Linked DNA regions of Homo sapiens: regions 1, 3 and 4 are each linked to region 2. The links are contacts of gene promoters, found by promoter capture Hi-C in blood cells and fetal thymus (Javierre and others, 2016). All regions are on one chromosome and are shown on one strand. Each heading gives the region's core, a stretch centred on a gene start or on the middle of the fragment in contact. The rest is flanking DNA. Distances are from core to core; before and after follow the strand shown.

The links. Contacts are between HindIII fragments. The CHiCAGO score rates a contact against its expected background, and 5 or more counts as called.
Region 1: a contact is called between the fragment with the promoter of ARHGEF1 here and the fragment with the promoter of PAF1 in region 2, in 6 of 17 cell types (total B cells, fetal thymus, total CD8 T cells and 3 more). The highest score is 11.6, in total B cells.
Region 3: the fragment with the promoter of RPS19 here is called in contact with the fragment with the promoter of PAF1 in region 2 in 6 of 17 cell types (total B cells, fetal thymus, total CD4 T cells and 3 more); the score reaches 8.7 in total B cells.
Region 4: the fragment with the promoter of ERF here is called in contact with the fragment with the promoter of PAF1 in region 2 in 2 of 17 cell types (activated CD4 T cells and fetal thymus); the score reaches 11.0 in activated CD4 T cells.

What each region holds. Positions count from the first base shown.
Region 1 is chr19:41,881,934-41,884,633 of GRCh38, reverse strand. ARHGEF1 (Rho guanine nucleotide exchange factor 1) reads right to left here and starts at 1,450. Exons shown (of 29, transcript NM_004706.4): 1 at 1,345-1,450. RefSeq lists an enhancer at 166-375 and silencers at 242-391, 1,256-1,765. The HindIII fragment of the contact is 8,882 bases long and covers 1-2,700 here.
Region 2 is chr19:39,389,750-39,392,544 of GRCh38, reverse strand. It overlaps PAF1 (PAF1 component of Paf1/RNA polymerase II complex), which reads left to right and starts at 1,439. Exons shown (of 14, transcript NM_019088.4): 1 at 1,439-1,727; 2 at 2,256-2,285; 3 at 2,384-2,476; 4 at 2,784-2,795. The coding sequence starts at 1,681. It overlaps MED29 (mediator complex subunit 29), which reads right to left and starts at 1,167. Exons shown (of 4, transcript NM_017592.4): 1 at 907-1,167; 2 at 23-81. The coding sequence starts at 1,122. It also overlaps a transcript of SAMD4B not described here. RefSeq lists an enhancer at 823-1,112 and a silencer at 2,650-2,781. The HindIII fragment of the contact is 958 bases long and covers 1,103-2,060 here.
Region 3 is chr19:41,858,949-41,861,648 of GRCh38, reverse strand. RPS19 (ribosomal protein S19) reads right to left here and starts at 1,394. Exons shown (of 6, transcript NM_001022.4): 1 at 1,360-1,394; 2 at 804-874; 3 at 437-537. The coding sequence starts at 874. RefSeq lists silencers at 1,073-1,192, 1,253-1,382 and an enhancer at 936-1,691. The HindIII fragment of the contact is 18,374 bases long and covers 1-2,700 here.
Region 4 is chr19:42,253,563-42,256,390 of GRCh38, reverse strand. It overlaps ERF (ETS2 repressor factor), which reads left to right and starts at 1,263. Exons shown (of 4, transcript NM_006494.4): 1 at 1,263-1,413. The coding sequence starts at 1,392. RefSeq lists enhancers at 35-566, 1,207-1,706 and silencers at 1,062-1,461, 1,472-2,161, 2,242-2,311, 2,402-2,521, 2,542-2,591 and 1 more. The HindIII fragment of the contact is 3,576 bases long and covers 1-2,828 here.

The DNA of each region.
Region 1 (2,700 bases), core at 201-2,700, 2.5 Mb before region 2:
GACCCAAATCTTACATGGACGTGGCGGGTCTTACGCGGGCCCTAAATCCTACGGGGGACGTGGCAGTGTGCACGGCCAGGGATGCCGGGGAGGACGTGCAGAGTCAGGGTCTGACACCCGCTGGGGACCGCGTCCCTCACCTGCTCCAGGTGGAAAGAGAAGCCATCGCCGCCACCGGAACCGAAGCCTCCGCGCTCGGGCTCCGCACTCTCCCCACCCCTGCCGCCGCGTCGCTCTAGCCGCCCTGAGTCCACCTTTGCGCCCAGCTCCACTCCTCCTGCCAGCCGCTCTAGCCCGGCTCCTGCCGGGCTCCGGCCCCGACGACTCTACTCCTCCCGCCGGCCGCTCTAGCGCTGTACTGCGCCACGCAGGCCAGATAGGGCCGCTCTGGCCTGTCTTGGAGGGCCAGCGTTTCCGTATCTCGACTGCCCCCGTCACTCCCCGGGCCCCGCCCCGCGCCCGGAGGTGCAGATGGGTCCAACTCCTCCCGAGTTCGATCGGAGATCTCCTAGTCACCCCAGCGCTGAGCACTCGGACGGCGGACTGGGGCTCCCCGTCCTATTAGTCTCCCCACTTAGGGGACCCGCTGAATTTCCAATCCTCGTACATCAATCCCCTCCGTCTCCCACCCCCAGCCCCTTCCTTTGGAACCGGAAAAGCAATAGTCTTGAGTTCCAGCACAACTTTCCCTCTGACATGCAGTGTAATCTGCAAAAAGTAATGACTTCTCTGTAGACCTCAGTCTTCCCATCCGTACAATGGGAGAAGGCCTCCAGCTCTCTCCCTACACCTGTCTCTCACGGTATAATTAATGACCTAGAAAAGAGCTTTCCGAAAACTCTTTCAAATGCACTCTGCAACTTTCAGCTTCACAGCGACCCTCGTCGTTGTTGTTATTGTTGTTTTTCATTTTTAGGTGGCCCTAAAGCATGCGGGGGTTGGAGGATGGCGCTTTGCGGAAAGCACGTGCGAGTTCAAATCCCAACTCCACACTTTCTCACGATGTGCGTTCCCTGGGACGAGTCGGTTTGGCTCCCCGGGCCTCGGTTTCCCCACCCGTACAATGGTAGTGATCGTCCGTTCTCCACTGAGCAGGTGGGAGGCCTTGGCCCCGGCCTCGCACCGTTCGTCCCCACCTATGGGGCACTCGTCAAGTGTGAGTTCTCCCCTCTTTGCTCCCTTTGACAGATGGGAAAACTGAGGCCCAAGGAGGGGCGGCCGCTGGTTCCGTGGGGTCCGAAGGGGGCCCCTCCGCTGCCGGCAGCGCCCCAGCCCCTCCCTCCTCCTCCCCACTTCCCCCAACAGCCGAGGGGAGGAGGCCGGGCGGGGCCGGGGACCGAGTACCTGGTGTCCGCGCGGAGGTGACCGGCGGGGCGCCCGAGGTCGGGCTCGGCGATCCCGGGCCCTGGGTCCCGGCTCCCGCTTCCTGGCTCTGGCGGGGCAGGAAGTCGGGGCGTTTTTCCGGAGGCCCCCGCCCCGCCGCCCCTCCCCGCTTCCTGCCCGCGCCCCGCGCCCGCCCGGCACCTCCGCTTCCTTCCCCTTCTCGCCGCTTGCCCGCCCCTCCTTTCCCCGCTGCGCCCGGGTCCCTGCGGGCACCGGCCCCCGCCCCGGCCGCGCCCGAGCTCTCCCCGGCTTTGTCCATCGGTCCGTCCGCCGGGCGCGGGCTCCGCGGGACTCGCATCTCCCGGCTGGGGTCACCTCCCCGGAGGTGCTGGGGGGCAAGCCCTGCTCCCCGTGCGCCCTAGACCGAGCCACGACCTCCCCGGCTTTCCGCGTCTGTGGTTCTCATGGTCTTGCGCCCTTCCTTCGCCTCTGTGGGTGTGCTCCCGCCTGCGTCTGCATCCCCTTCTCTGTCCCTCTGTCTTTCTCTACTGGGGTCTTTCCCTCCTTGGCCTCCACCTCTCCTCTCTGTCCCTCCATCACTTTCTCCCCGAAAGCCCTTCTCTACCCTCTCCAGCTCTCTCTGTATCTTTCTGCATCTCCGTCTCAGTCTCTGTCATTTCCCCAGCTGTTGCTGTGCCTGGGCCTCTTCGTGCCCATTTTCGGTTGCCCCTTCTCCCTTCTGTCTCTTCCTTTCCTTCTCGCTCTCTCTCTGTCCCTTTCTCTCCACGTCCCTGTCTCTCTCCCGGATTCCCAGGGTCTCATCATCTCTTCCTTCCCTTGCTCGTCCCCTTCATGATCCCTGGGTCTCAGCCTCTCTCCTCTCCCTTTCTCAGGAAATCCGTGTCTCTGTGCCTCTCTGTCATTGCCCCGGGATCTCCCTGCTATCCCCAGGTTAGGACCACAGACCCTCCAAAATGCCCCTTCTGTAAGTCAACGCATCGGGAAAAGGCTGCAGTCTGAATTCTGTACTAGCCCCAATCCACAAGATAGTCCCTGTGTTTCCAAGGCTTAAATACGCATAAAGTGGCTCATGCCTGTAATCCCAGCACTTTGGGAGGCCGAAGCATGGTGGATCACTTGAGGTCAGGAGTTCGAGACCAGCCCGGCCAACATGGCGAAACCCTGTCTCTACTAAAACAAAAATTAGCTGGGTGTGGTAGCACATGCCTGTCATCCCAGCTACTCGGGAGCCTGAGGTACAAGAATCGCTTGAGGTGGAGGTTGAAGTGGGCTGAGATTGCGCCACTGCACTCCAGCCTGGGCGACAGAGTCAGACTCTGCCTCAAAAAAAAAAAAAAAAAAAAAAAAAGCGGCCGG
Region 2 (2,795 bases), core at 190-2,689:
TGGTAAAGGGGGCTGCACTCACTGTCCATTGTCGATGTTAGTGTTCTGAATCAAGTTTTGGGCCGCAACCTTCATCAAGGTCTAGTCAAAACAAAAACAAAACACGTGGGAAATGGAAAAACAAAAGGGAATACCTCTGGCAGATCTACACTCTTTCTTGAGATCACTCAGTCTCAGGTTTTCTTTTCAACTGGCACCTTCCCTCCTGACTTTCCAAAGTAATATTCGTTTCCATTCCTATAGCTGTCACCACTCCATCCTCCCAGAGGCCCGCTCTCACCTGAGCTTCTCGCCAATAACCTAAGGGTCCTCCCTCACCTATCAATCAAGGGCAGAATCTCCGTATAAGCCAGTACTCTCCTCAGGCTTTAACGACCAGAGCCCAGTTTCTCCTTTAAACAACCCCTCACTCAAGCTCCGGCCAGTCCCAGCCTCAGCATCAGCGCTGATCCCATCTCTGCCGAGCTTCGCTTAGGTCTCGCAGAAAACAACAGTTTTATTTATTTATTTATTTATTTTTTTGACGGAGTCTCGCTCTGTTGCCCAGGCTGGAGTGCAATGGCACGATGTCGGCTCACTGCAACCTCCGCCTCCTGGGTTCAAGCGATTCTCCTGCCTCAGCTTCCCGAGTAGCTGTAATTACAGGCGCGCGCCACCATGCCCGGCTAATTTTTGTATTTTTAGTAGAGACGAGGTTTCACCAGGCTGGTCTTGAACTCCTGACCTCAAGTGATCCGCCCGCCTCGGCCTCCCAAAGTGCTGGGAACACAGGCGTGCACCAGCCAGGCCAAAACAGCAGGTTCTATTCCTCTTTCTGCTTAGCGCTCTCTCCGACTAACCTGGCCCTCGGCCTGCCCCTCTAGACTACCAAATCCAGTTTGCTTCTCGCTGCTTAAGGCCAATCACCTGTAGACTCTCCTTCAGCTGCGGGATGAGCATCTTATAACGCTGCACAGGATCGAAGTCCTGTTGCTGTTGCTGCAGGAGGCCGCTCTGGGCAGGGCCCACCAGTTGTGCTGGCGGTTGCGGCTGCTGCTGGGGACCCGGGCCGCCAGCCGAACTAGGACCCGATACACCAGCAGCTGAGGAAGCCGCTGAAGCTTGCTGCTGGGATGCAGCCATCTTCCTCGCGTAGACCGCCGGAAGTGCGTTACGACTGCGTCTCTCCCCGTTGCTTTTCAGCATCCCTATTTCTAGTCCCCGTTTGCTAGTTAGTCCCGCCCCCTAGGCAATTAAGCCAATGGAGGGGAAGGAGGTGCCCCAACGTTACGTCACTCTCAAATCTGCGTCCAGACTGAGATATCTCTCCACCAATCACAGAAGCACCTCTCTCCCTCGCTCCGCCCTTCACCCAGACGCTCGCCAATCCGTGTGTGGTTCCGAGCCGGACTTCATTTCCCCGAAGGCGTCGCGGCCTGAGGAGACCCGTTGGGTCCTCAGCGTCTTGGCGGCAGTTGGTGGAACCGGAGCTTCGAGTCCGTCCCCGGTGCTGCCTGCGCGTTCACCTGAGTCTCGCTGGAGCTCTTCTCGCCCGCCCACCTCATCTCAACCCACTTTCCGCGGGGAGCGGCGCCAAGCTGGGCCTTCCTCGGATCAGGCGTCCCCTGAAGTCGGCACGCCCCTCTGCGTCCCCCTTCGGTCCCGCTAGGACCCCGTCCGGGCTGCCGTCGCCTCGTCGCTATGGCGCCCACCATCCAGACCCAGGCCCAGCGGGAGGATGGCCACAGGTAGGCGCCACGCTTTTCTGTTGCAGCAAGGCGGGGGATCGGGAGAGGGTTTCTGCTGAACAACGTCACCAGCCCCCAGGTCTGCCCGTGACGTCATGAAGCGCTCACCTTTGACGAAGGGGGCGGGTTCCTTCTGAGATTCAGGTGTTCCCCTCCTCCCCGCCGTGCAGTTCAGGGATTAGGCTTTTGGAGACTCCCTCCAGAAGGGATCCCTCCAGTCAACCGTTTGGAGACCCCTCTTCCGAAGACGATTGAGTACATGGTTCTTTATTAAAGCACTTGAAGCCATCTCCTGCAAAAGGGATTGAGCACTTGGCCTTGTTCATTAAAGCTTTTGGGGGCATTTCTTCCTAAATAAATTGAACATTTGTCTCCTTCCATTAAAGCATTTGGACACTCCCCACACCACCACCCAAAGAAACCAGCATTTGTCACCCCTCCTACCTTTTGAAAGGTTGGGGAAGCCTTTTTCATTCTCCTGTCAATCCCGTCCTCTCCACCTATCACTGTTTCTTTCTTCTCCACTAGGCCCAATTCCCACCGGACTCTGCCTGAGAGGTGAGCCCCACTGTGCTTTCCCAGGAGCGGTGGGGCAGTGGGGCTGGGAGCAGAGGTGGGGCAGCGGGGGCCCACTTTTGAGCCACTAATGTTCCTAGGTCTGGAGTGGTCTGCCGAGTCAAGTACTGCAATAGCCTCCCTGATATCCCCTTCGACCCCAAGTTCATCACCTACCCCTTCGACCAGAACAGGTGAGACTAAGGAATGGGAAAACTACTCAGGTATGAGTTCCTTGAAGGCAGGGACTGCTTGTCTCGTTGGCTGCTGTCTGCTCAGGGCCTAGCACAGTACCTACCCTAGCACATAGTAGTAGCTGCTCAATTGTTAATGGAGCAAGCAGTGTCCAAGTCCCTTCCCACTGGGGAGCCAGCTTTCAGACTCTGCCATGGGGGACACTTCATTCTGAGTTCCTCCCCAGAGAAGCTCCGCCTCTGGGAAGCAGGGCTGTGAGGGGTGAAGCTGGAATCCAAACACCACAATAGGTGTTTCCCCACCCAGGTTCGTCCAGTA
Region 3 (2,700 bases), core at 145-2,644, 2.5 Mb before region 2:
ATTCAATCCTTGCAATACTCTAGTACTGGTACAATAATTAGTCCCATTTTGGGGATGAGAGAGTGCACAGGCAGGTTAACCAACTTGCCAGAGGACACACAGCCAGATGTAAAAGATGGATCCAAACCCAGGGAGTCTGCCTCCGTGTATATAGAAAGGATTAAACCACCTGTAAGCAAAATATGAACATTCATCTGTCTCTGGTTTCCCCTGAGGCTCAAAGCCACAGGTCCTCCTCTCACAAAGCTCTTAGAATGTCATAAAAACTTGGAGTACCAAGTTATCGAATGTCACATCACACAAAGCAAGTGGTGACACAACCAAGGGTTTCTCTCCCTCTTGGGGCGGGAAAGAGCTCAGAGGAGACAGGGAAGTATGGTTTGTGCCAGGGGTCACCCAGCTCCCCACTCTCCAGCCAAAGACCTAAGTTCCTCACCAGCTCGCGTGTAGAACCAGTTCTCATCGTAGGGAGCAAGCTCTTTGTGCTTGGCCAGCTTGACGGTATCCACCCATTCGGGGACTTTCAGCTTCCCGGACCTAAGACCAAAACAGTGGGAAAAGCACGATTCAGTCATCTCCACAAACTACCCCATATCCCAAATGCCCTCCCCTCAACACAACTATGCTGTGCCCAGAGTACAAAGAGAGGCTGGAACCGGAACACAAGCCAGGCCTCACGCTGAAAGGAGCCACGGAGGCCCCAAACAAGCCTCGCCTGCCAGGGACCGGCAAACACTGGGGCTCAGATGGGCAGGCCAAGGCGACAGCCTCCACCCGTTTTGAACCTCAGTCCCCAAACTCACTTTTTGAGGAAGGCTGCCAGAGCTCTGACGAACTCCTGCTGGTTCACGTCTTTTACAGTAACTCCAGGCATCTGAGGGAGAAAGTCAAGCATGTGAACACAGGCCTGGCAGAGACGACTGCCAAGAGCACGGACCCCACCCCAATCCTTTCGCTCCAGCGCATCCTAAACCGTGGTACCCCCCGTTACTTCCCACGGCCCCTTCAACGCCGGGCTCCGGCTCCTGCGGGTCTGAAGGAGCTCACCGACGCCCACGGCCTCTCTGGATCGCACTAACAGAGCCCGGCCCCTGCGTGTGAGGATCCTGCGCGACCCCACTCCCCAGCCCCGGGACTCCGGACGCCCCACGCACCCCGCCGCTGCCCCCCGGGGCCCACGCTCGGTTCCCGGACGGCGCTGACCGGGCATGTCCGGGCCTGCCGCTCGCACGTGGCCGCGGCTCTAGGGGGCGGGACGGGCCCGCGCCGGGCGCCTCGGGGCCCTCAGGCACGCGCTCTGAGGCTTCGGCGTCCGGCCCTGCCGCCTCGCGCCCGGTCCAGCTCGGAGCCCCCGCTTACCGTGCGGCCTCCGCGCTGCCAGCCAGGGGAAAGGGAACGACGGGGTTTCCCGGGCGCACAAGTCGGGCGTAGGGTCTCGCGAGAGTTCCGAAAGCTCGCGAGAGCGAGGGTAGACGCTGAGGCTCCGCCTCTCTCAGGGCGAAAGTTCGTCCCCGCCTAGAGGGGAGGGTGTCTAGTGAGGGGTGGAGAGGTAAAGGGGAGGGCCAAGGGGTCGCGCGTGGAGGCCTGGGTTTCCTCCCGCGTTTCCTTCTCCCGGAGTGTAATAGAGAGAGGATAGAGAGCTCCTGTTCGGAGCTGGGGGAACTTGGCTTCGTTTGCGTCGTTCGTGGCTGGAAGGAACAGTGGTGGAGAATACTATGATGGCGAAAGTACGGGGCAGGATGGGTGGGCCACAGCTGGCGCCCCACGGCGGAACAACCCCTTTTCCGGGTGGAAGTGGCTGTTCCCTGGCCGGAAGTGGGAGTAGTAAGGGCGGAACTGTGACAGGGAACCTAGGGGAAGGGCGAGGAAGAAATGTGGCTATCATCTTCCGTCCTTCACCGCCAGGAGTCGCGAGAGCGGGAGACGGAAGCCCCACCCTTCTCAGGGCGGAAGTTGCTTCAGCACGGCCGGGGCGAGCGAAAAGGGAATGAGGCGCTGGAGGAGGGGAGAAGATAAGGGCGGGACAAAGCGGCAGAGGCGGGACCTTAGCAGAAGTTAGTTCAGCTCTGCCTTCTAGTGTCGGAGTCTGTTCGCTCAGCCCTTACTTTGCCAATTTAGATTTACCTGCCCCGCTGACCTGTGTAGCTTTAGGCAGTCCATTTGCCTTCTCAGGGCTTGTCTCACCATTAAAAAAAAAAAAAAAAAATGAGATCCCCGTTTGTCCATTTAAAGTGGCTCCTCTGGTTCATGGCGCGTCACATGCTCTAAAAAATATTTTTTGAGTGCCTGCTCTGTGCCAGGCACAGGTAAATATTATTTGGACATTTATCATGTGGCTGTTACTGTAGTGTTACATGCATGATCTCATTTAATCCTTACAAGGCCCAACAACTAAATAACGTGGTCCAATAAAATTATGTTAACTTGTTGCAAAAAGGAAACACTGAAATGTGTGTAGCTATTTTCTTATGTTGGAAAGACTGAGAATTTAAAACATAAGAGCAAATATTAGAATTTTACCCCACACTGATACTGTGGCTGCAAAATGTGTTAATTATTAATAAGCCAAGACTCGTATCTGTTAGAAAAATTAAAACCAACCATGCTTCTAGCATAAGATCATATATTTAAATCAAGGTTTTACATTCATGTAGAATGTTGTTGAAACCTATCTCATACTGTTTCTAAAACTTGAGAAAA
Region 4 (2,828 bases), core at 14-2,513, 2.9 Mb before region 2:
TGGACTAGGTACCCCGCAAGCGAGGAGGCTGGGATTGAAGCCCTGGGTACCGGGAGCCTGAGCTCCGCAGGCCTTCCCTATCTGTGACTTTTCTGTCTCCCCGCCCATCTTCTGGATTCGTCCCCCACCCAGCCCCCCCAACTCCCGCCCGCCACCCATACGCCCCTCCTTCGGAACCTCAGAGTCTTTTTTGAGACTCTGTTTCCAGGCTATGCCTGTGAATATTGCTTCTATTTGGCCTCTACCCTGCTGCCGGCTCCTGGGCTCCATCAGATCTGCGCTGTGATTTCCTGTTTCCCAGAGCCTCAGGCTTCATCCTTCCCTCCCGGCTGAGGCAGAGAACGGAGACTTAACACTTCTCTACGCTCTGGCTTTCGATCTTAAGCCCTGTCTTCCTCTCTCCTGGCGACCCTCAGTGCCCCTTGGGAGCACATTTGTTCAGACTTTGGTCGCCCCCTCGTATCCCGGCCCCGCCTCCGGAACCCCCGGTCCTAGTAGTGGACGTGGGGGGACCTCCGGCGCCAGCCCTATCCCCGGGACAGCTGCAGCCTGGGGACGGTGGTGGTGGGGGCTTCCAAATGCATTCTCTCTGGTCACTTCCTCCCCAGCTGGACGGGGGTTATCAGGGAAGCCAAGACCCCATCCCCACAGGAGCGGAGGGCACAGCCGCCTCCCCATTTCCGATGCTGGGAAATGCATCCCACCCATTCCACCCCACCCCTGGACAGCTGCCCCCATTCAGGCTCAGGGTTGGGGGGTTGGGTAAAACCAAGCTGGGAAATGCTGTGGTCTTCATCATCTTCTAAGGTCCTGACCCCGCCCCTCTGCAGAGAAGATTCTGCCCCCTCCCCACAAAAGTTTCTGACCCCCGCTTCCTCGGAAGGGCCCCCCGTTTTCCCATACAGGCTCCCAAAAGAAACTCTGGAGCCCGCAGTGGGCAGGAGAGGAGGAGGGGCAGCAGGTAGCGAGTGCCGAAGACTTAAGTTAGCTGCAGACTCGGAGCCTCTGACTAGGGTCATGACCCGCGGGACCCCATCCCACCCCCACCCCCTCCTTCCTCCCTCCCCCGCCGCGCGGCCCCTTTAAGCCCAGAGCCGGCCGGTCCTCAGTGGCTGCGCGCCGACGAGCGTGTGTGTGAGTGCGCGGGGAGGGGGCGGGCGCAGTGTCTCCATGGCGACGCGGCGGTGACGTCGCCGGCCGGGGGGCGTGGGCGTCCCGGCCCCGGAGTGCGATATTAACCCGGGAGGCGGCGGCGGGGAGGGGAGAGGCTCTGAGAGGCGAGGCCGGGTGAGGCGGCGAGGGCGGCCCGACGGGCGCGGGACGGGACGGGGCAGCGAGGGCGCCGGGAGCCGCGGCCCGGAATCGGGGCGCTTCGCCCCGGGCCCCCCAGCATGAAGACCCCGGCGGACACAGGTGGGGGCGGGGGCAGCACGTGTGGGGGAGACTTGTTGCCCCGGGAAACCGAACGGAGAAACTTTGGGGGGGCTGAAGGGGTCCGGGGGAGCCCGAGTGATCCCCAGTTCTGGGGGACCCCTCAAGCACTGGAGACCTGTTGCTTCTCGTGGCGCGAGCGGGGTTGCTGCCTGGGACCCCCGATTCCTGGCTCCGGGCGGAGTGGTGTGGGTGCTGCGGGTCTTGGTCCTGTATCCCTACCGGGACCCCGCAGGCCGGGCTCTCCCCCACTCCCGGGATCACGGGGGTGGCGGGGTCCTTCCCCTCCGCTCTTGTCACGTTGCACTCTGGGGGCCGGGACGTGTGCGGGGCGGGGGGGCTCGTCCACCGGGCCCGCTATCCCTGGTTCTGCGCTGCGCGGTCCTGCTGGTGACCTTCACGGCGGCGCGTGCCCTGCACCAGGTTAGCGGGGGATACGGGATGGCCTCTAGGAGGAGGGCGTGAGTGGGGAGCCCGGGACTCGGGGTCCTGGCTGCGCCGCCCCTCCCCCGCCCGCCTCTGTCGGCTCCTCGCTCCCCCGCCCTCGCCGAGTCGCAAAGTTCCAAAGCGCAGCCCGAACGTTCGAAAAAGGAACTTTTTGTTTCCGACCTTAGAACGCGCGGCTTTAAGGTGGCTCCGGGGAGACCTGGGTACCCTCCTCCCGCGCCACCGGTGGCCCGGGGTTGAGGAGGGTGGGGAAGGTGGGGGGAGACGCAGAGGCTCCCCCCTCGCCCCCCCTCCCGGATCCACCTCTTCTCTTTCAGCGGGCCGTCTCTTCCCTCCGCCCCTCTCTTCCCCGCCAACTTGCTCCTCCTTAAGGGGCCAAGGTTCCCCTCCCCCTCGGTCGGCGGGCGGGGGGCAGCGGGATTAACTCCCCCTCCCACTCGGACTTTTCCCCCTCCCCTCCCCCGCCGCCCCCGGGCTCGCGCGGGCTGGACTTTGCGCCCGAGCGCGCAGGGGGAGGGGTCCCAGCCGCCCCCTGCCCGTCTACCCCGTCGGAATCCGGCCCGGGGCGGGGACGGGGGAGGGGGAAGGGGGCCGGGCGCCGCTGTTCAAACTTGTTTCCTTCCCCCGGCGGCGGCGGCGGCGGCGGCGGCGGCTCGGGCTCCTGTGTGCGGGTGTGTGCCCCGACCGGCCCACCCACCCCACCCCATCCCCACCCCATTCCCACCCCATTCCCATCCCCATCCCCCTGCTCGGCGGGTGGGGGCGGCTTAATCTTAAAGGGCTCCGAGCTGGGATCCGGCGCCAGGGGATTGGGACCCGGACCGAGGAGGGGCCCTGGGGGTGGGGCCGGGGTGCGGAGTGCGGTAGGGTCAGTCACGTGCGTCCTACACACTCCCCCGGCTTCCACTCGCTCCCGGGTGGCTGGGCCCTGGGGGCAGCAGGAGCCTACC